2 separate regions of the Homo sapiens genome follow, and region 2 is linked to region 1. The links are contacts of gene promoters, found by promoter capture Hi-C in human tissues and cell types (Jung and others, 2019). All regions are on one chromosome and are shown on one strand. Each heading gives the region's core, a stretch centred on a gene start or on the middle of the fragment in contact. The rest is flanking DNA. Distances are from core to core; before and after follow the strand shown. Region 1 holds the start of COL27A1 (collagen type XXVII alpha 1 chain). Region 2 overlaps COL27A1 (collagen type XXVII alpha 1 chain).

The links. Contacts are between HindIII fragments. The study calls those that stand out against the background at their distance.
Region 2: a contact is called between a fragment that was not itself captured here and the fragment with the promoter of COL27A1 in region 1, in 7 of the 25 tissues and cell types used here (bladder, lymphoblastoid cells, mesenchymal stem cells and 4 more).

Annotation. Positions count from the first base shown.
Region 1 is chr9:114,154,268-114,156,967 of GRCh38, reverse strand. COL27A1 (collagen type XXVII alpha 1 chain) reads right to left here and starts at 1,431. Exons shown (of 61, transcript NM_032888.4): 1 at 956-1,431. The coding sequence starts at 1,017. It overlaps LOC105376225 (a long non-coding RNA gene), which reads left to right and starts at 2,700. Exons shown (of 5, transcript XR_930256.3): 1 at 2,700. RefSeq lists silencers at 265-559, 1,447-1,566. The HindIII fragment of the contact is 14,734 bases long and covers 1-2,700 here.
Region 2 is chr9:114,194,922-114,197,621 of GRCh38, reverse strand. It overlaps COL27A1 (collagen type XXVII alpha 1 chain), which reads right to left. Exons shown (of 61, transcript NM_032888.4): 7 at 1,610-1,663. Among named protein-coding and RNA genes, the nearest start is that of MIR455, 13 kb to the left of the region's middle. The HindIII fragment of the contact is 5,487 bases long and covers 1-2,700 here.

The sequences.
Region 1 (2,700 bases), core at 182-2,681:
GGGCCCAGCTACAGCCCTAACAGCCTCTGGGGAGTGTCCTGGTGTCCTGGGGGCAGGATGGAAAGAGAGGAGCGCCGTCCACAGGCCCCAACGGGCTGCTTGCATGCTGCTGGCTCCCACACACACCCACACGCTGCGCCGGCTCCAGCACAGGCTCACTCTCTCTTACAACTCCTACTCCACACGCTGGGAATCCCAGCCTCTGGGCCCCAGCTCCGCGCAGCCGCTCCTGGGAGAGTCCCTGCCCCTCTCCGGCCCTGTCTCCCGATCTGTACACTGAGGGGTTCCGCACAGTGATCGCCCAGGGCCCTTTCTGCTCTGACATGCTGGCTCTCACTTTTTCTCTCTTACACACGTGAAAGGGACAGGAACCGAGAAGCAGGAAACACAGACACACAGACCCAGGCCGACTAACACAAACACGCGGAGATTTCCAGAAACGCGGGGACGTGCAGAGCCACACAGACACGGAGACAGGAGCAGAACCCGAGACCTGGTGACCTAGAAACTTGCGGACAATTTCACAAGAACAGATAGAAACGGAGACGTACAGGCTTGGGACCTGCAGACACTGAGACACCGGAACACACCGAGACGGCCCCAAACGGAGACCCCCCTCCTCCCCCAAGCATCCAAAAAGCCCCCCTCCGCACCCCGCCGGCCGCTCCAGGCGCCACCACCCACCCCCACCCCCGACCCCCGGGCTGGCTCTGCCCCCGCCCCAACGGGATCGGGCAGCCGGGCCAGGCGCGGCAGGGCGGGCAGCGTTCGCCAACTCTCGCCCGGCCGGGGGCGCAGCCCCTATTAACCCTTGGCGTCCCGCCTCGCGGGGGCGCAGGAAGGGGCAGGAAGCTGACGTTCCGCTGGAAGCGACCGCATGGCGGGGAACCCCGGCCCTCCCCGAGATTGGAGCAGCAGGAAGCTAGGGAGGGGGCGTCCCCGAGTTCGTACTCACCCCCCGCGCGCCGCCGCCGCCGCCGCTGTGCCTCGGGCCCCCCGCGCCGATCCCGCTCCCATGGCAGGCCCCTACTTCATGCTCCCGAGCCCGGGGGGCAAGTGTGGGCGCGCCCCATGGGGCCGCCAGCCCCCCGCCCCGCCGCGCCAGGCCGGCTTAGAGCGCGCGGCCCCCGCGCCCCCAGCGCAGCCCCGCGCCCAGGGGCGCCCGAGCAGGCAGGCAGCGCGGCTGGGGCCCCGCGGGCGCCCGCGCCAGGCCCATGGTCCCAGGAGTCCGGGCGCCGCGCTCGCCCCTGCCTCGGTCCTTTTCTGCTTCCACCAAAAAGGAAGAAGAAGCAAGAAAAAGAGAGAGAGAGATGATCAAACTTTTGGAGGCGGGCTGCTGGCGGTCCCCGGAGGCAGAGCAAGGCCGGGTGAGGGCGCGCGGAGGGCGGTGGAAGCTGCCTCCCCGCCGGCCTGGGGGAGGAGAGGAAAAGGAAGGATTTGGGGGAAATGAAGGCGATTTAAAGTCTCGGCCCGCGGTGGCTCTCCACCTTCCCTCCTCCCCGCTCCCGGCCGCCCTCTGCTGCCCCCTGCTGCCCCCTGCCGGCCGGAGCCAAGGGTACAGCCTCAGCTGGCCCACTACAGCCCCGATGGGACACCCGCCCCCCTCCTCCTTGTATAGATGGGGAAACAGATTCACAGAGAGGAAGGGGCTGCCCAGGGCTTCACGGTGATTTGATCACCGTTCTGAGATTAGGAACTTCTGACTGGTGAGGCTGGGGGTCCTCCAATGGGGGGTTGGGGTAGGGGAGAAGGGCCAAATTCTACTCCTGGAAGAAACCCACAGTTTCAGGGACGGAGCTAGGACCAGAACTTGGTGTCCAGACGCCCACGACAACCAGTATCGTGATCCCCACCGCCCACCAAAAGTTTGCGCTCCCAGACTCGGAGCGCCCTGGAGAACATATAGGGTGGGCTTGTTAAGGGTTTGCCACCCTCTCTCTCCCTTCTGTCAGCAATTGGAATCTAACCGCACCCCACCACCACCACTAACCACGCACCTCCCCAGAATCGACAAAAACTCCCTCGGATCCCATCCGGGAGCTAAGAGCTGCACACCTTGGCCCCCGGGCAAATTCTCACACCCAAAACTCCAGTCCAGCCCTGGGACCACAGCTCCCTCCGCCTCTACCACCTCTTGCCACTCGTTCACGAGCAAAGTTACACTTATTCACCGGTGCACACACACACTCCCACACGTATCCACCCTTTCCCCAAACTCAGACACACGCTCACACACGGTCCCATTCTGGGACAGCCACGCACCCTTCCTAGGTTCACACGAAACGCATCCTCAGATATCTGGGCTCAGGCGCACGCTGATACTCTACACTCGCAGAAGCATGCACACGGATGCTTACACAGGCACAAATGCACGCTATCCTGGCCATATCGCCCCCACACATGTACACACCCCGGGTGGACACACGCGCGCACACCCTCACTTGCACACAGTTCTCCGAGAGTGCCCACCGCACATGTGCACACACGCATTCACTCCTCACGCGTGTACCCACCTCCCCATACGCGCACACCTTTAGGCGCGCGCACACACAGGCATATAACACTTCGCACCGCTCCAGGAGCCCCCAAGCACTTACTGGGTCCCTACGTGCGAGGCTGGCCGGTCGGTCCTTCCTCCGGCGCCTAACGGCATTTGTATTCATGGGTCCCCGCAGCCGTGGGCGCGGGGGCGGGGGGCGA
Region 2 (2,700 bases), core at 95-2,594, 41 kb before region 1:
TGGTTCCAGTCTGGTTTCCCCATCTCCTGCCACCTCTGCTAGGCTGCCACCCCCATGCAGAACAAGACCACCCGAGGCTGCTTTATGAGCTGGGACCGGAAGGAGCCTTTTCCACTCACACCTCATCCATCAGAAAGCGCTAGAGCCCAGAGAGGAAGTAAGTGGGGAGCGCAAGTCCCTCTGTGTTCTGTGAGCCAGAAAGGACCATGTTTCCCAGCTCACAAACAGCCACTGCTTCTGGGGTGGGCCTCTCAGGTTGAAGGTATGGCCTGCTCTGGCCATGGAGAAGGGAATGGGGGAACGAGGTCCTGCAAGGCCCCCTGTGTCATGGGGCTCTCAAGGCAAGAACAGGATGGAGCTGGGAGACACCCCAGCTGTCCAGATGAGAGCCAGATGGCCTAGAGAGAGTTCAGCTGTGGCCACAGCTGGGAGCCAGGGCAGAAGCTTAAGACACAGTGGTAGGCCGATGGATTCACCAGACAATCCATCAGCGGTTGGGGATTTTCTTGGAAAAAGCAATCGATCCTTAGTCTGCATTGCCTTCCCCCCATTTCCTGAACACCTGCTATGCACAGGCTTCATGCTAGGCTCAGTAGGAAGAGCAATAAACCAGATTTGCACACCCTGGTTGGTGAGGCATGCCTGGTGGCTCAAAATAACTAAGCCAAGACAGCTTAAGTGTTCTTGAGCAGAGAGGAGCCTCATGGCCTGAAGCTGGGTGCTCCAGGAGGACTTCCTGGAGTAGGCACAACTAGAGTAGAGTCTTGAAGGAAGGGAGACACAGGCTGGAGGAGTCACAGAAATCCAGGGGGACTGTAAGTTACAGACCCACTACCCAGGAAATGCCAGTCTTTTCCTCACACAGGCGTTTGGACAGGTAACTCCCCCAGCATGGCTGAAATGGGGATGGGATGGGCGTGACATAACAACAGCCAGCAAGATAGAGAGAACCCACTGCCTCTCCAGATCATTCCCCTTCCCCTTCCCCTGCAGAGCATCAGCGAGGGCCGCATATTAGACTCTGAGAGCTCACTGACTTGCCCAAGGTCACCCAGCCAGGAAATGGCAGAAGCAGGAGTAGGACCCAGGTCCAACTGACCCCAGGGTCCACTCCCTCAACTTCTCCGCTCCAGGCCTTGCTCCTGGTCACACAGCCCCAGACTGTGCAGGGTCAGAGACGGGGATCATTGTCTCCATCTCATGTAGGAGGAGGCTGAGGGGCAGAGACAGGACTCGCAGGCCCACGGCCTCTCAGACAGTGGGTGGTGGAGCCAGGGCCAGCACAGGTTACTCCATCACCACAGGCTTTCTTGAAGGTGGCCTCCCTGGGAGCGGCTGGGCCCCCAAAAGGAAGGACAGCAAACCAAGGATACTTCCTATGCTACCTCATTAACCGTGGTGGGAGGCACCTACTACGAGCCGAGGTATTCCCTGCCCTCAACAGGCACAACCCTTGGAAAGCTCTCTCACCTCTCACCCATGTACCCTGTGCCCAGGGGAGCTGGGCTGGGGCTGGGGAGAGGCAGGTGGGCCCACAGCTCTTCTGCCTGAAGACCTGGCTTGCTAGGAGGCCCACTGCGCAAGGCAAAGCATCAAAACCAAACAGTACCTTTCGTCCCGGAGGTCCTGGATTCCCGGAGAGCCCAGGCAAGCCCATGTCACCCTGGAAGACACAGACAAGGTGGGTGAGGCAGGAAAACGGGAGCAGAGACACTCTGCTACACTCTACAAATTGGAATGGTAACTTCCAATGGCTGGTTGTTTCCAAATGAGATTCATAGAGAAGTAGAGGCCTCAGAGGAGACTCGGGGGCTGCCCAGCAAGAAGAGTGAGTGGTGTACCCAGCCCCTTCCCCACTCAACTCAGCGGCTCCATCTGATCTATTTTACATACTGGGCTTCAGCAGAAGACACCACTTGAAGAATGGGTTCCGATACTAAAACCACGTTTGAAAACTATGCTCCAGAGGACATGTGCCTTATCAGTCCCATATCAATCAGCCATCTCTCCCTGCAGTCCTAAGACACCTTCCATTGCTGGGCATGCCACTGGCCAAGCAGGGGGCATTTCTGCCACCACCCCAAGACCTGAGAACAGGCCACACAGGAGCAGGAGGGAAGCCTGGGCTCCTGGGTGCCGATCTCATTTTGCCACTTATCAGCTGCATGACCTCCAGCAAGCCACCCCTGCCTAGGCCTCCGTTTTCTCATTTGTAAGCTGGGCCCGTCTGTCCTGGCTCATGGGGTATGATGGGGGTCAAGTGGTAGTATATGGGAACACTCTCCTGGGACCCTGGGTCACCCAGTAAATATGTGCTAAGTGCAAACACCTAGCAGTGAGGATGTGAAGAAATAAGCAACTCGTGTCTTGGGGAAATCAAAGAAAGCAGCCAATTCTAGGTGCCTTTAAGCACAGGAGGCTGGGCTGAGAAGCAGTGTTCCATCCATCAGGATGGCTCTGGGGCTGTGTCCAGAAGGAAGTCAGGCAGACCTGGGCATTGCTTCCAGGGTGTGTGTGCCTGGAAGACTGACACACTGGACAATCTCATTTGGAGTTCTGGGCTCCCCTCTTCCCATCTGTCCTGCACTCCCTCCAAGTCCCTTGCTCAGTTTATGGGGTGGATGCTTCAGAGACGGATGAAGGCCTTTAGCCAAAGTGTTTTTCCTTCTGCAGGCAAGCCTGGTTTCATAGCCCTTCAGA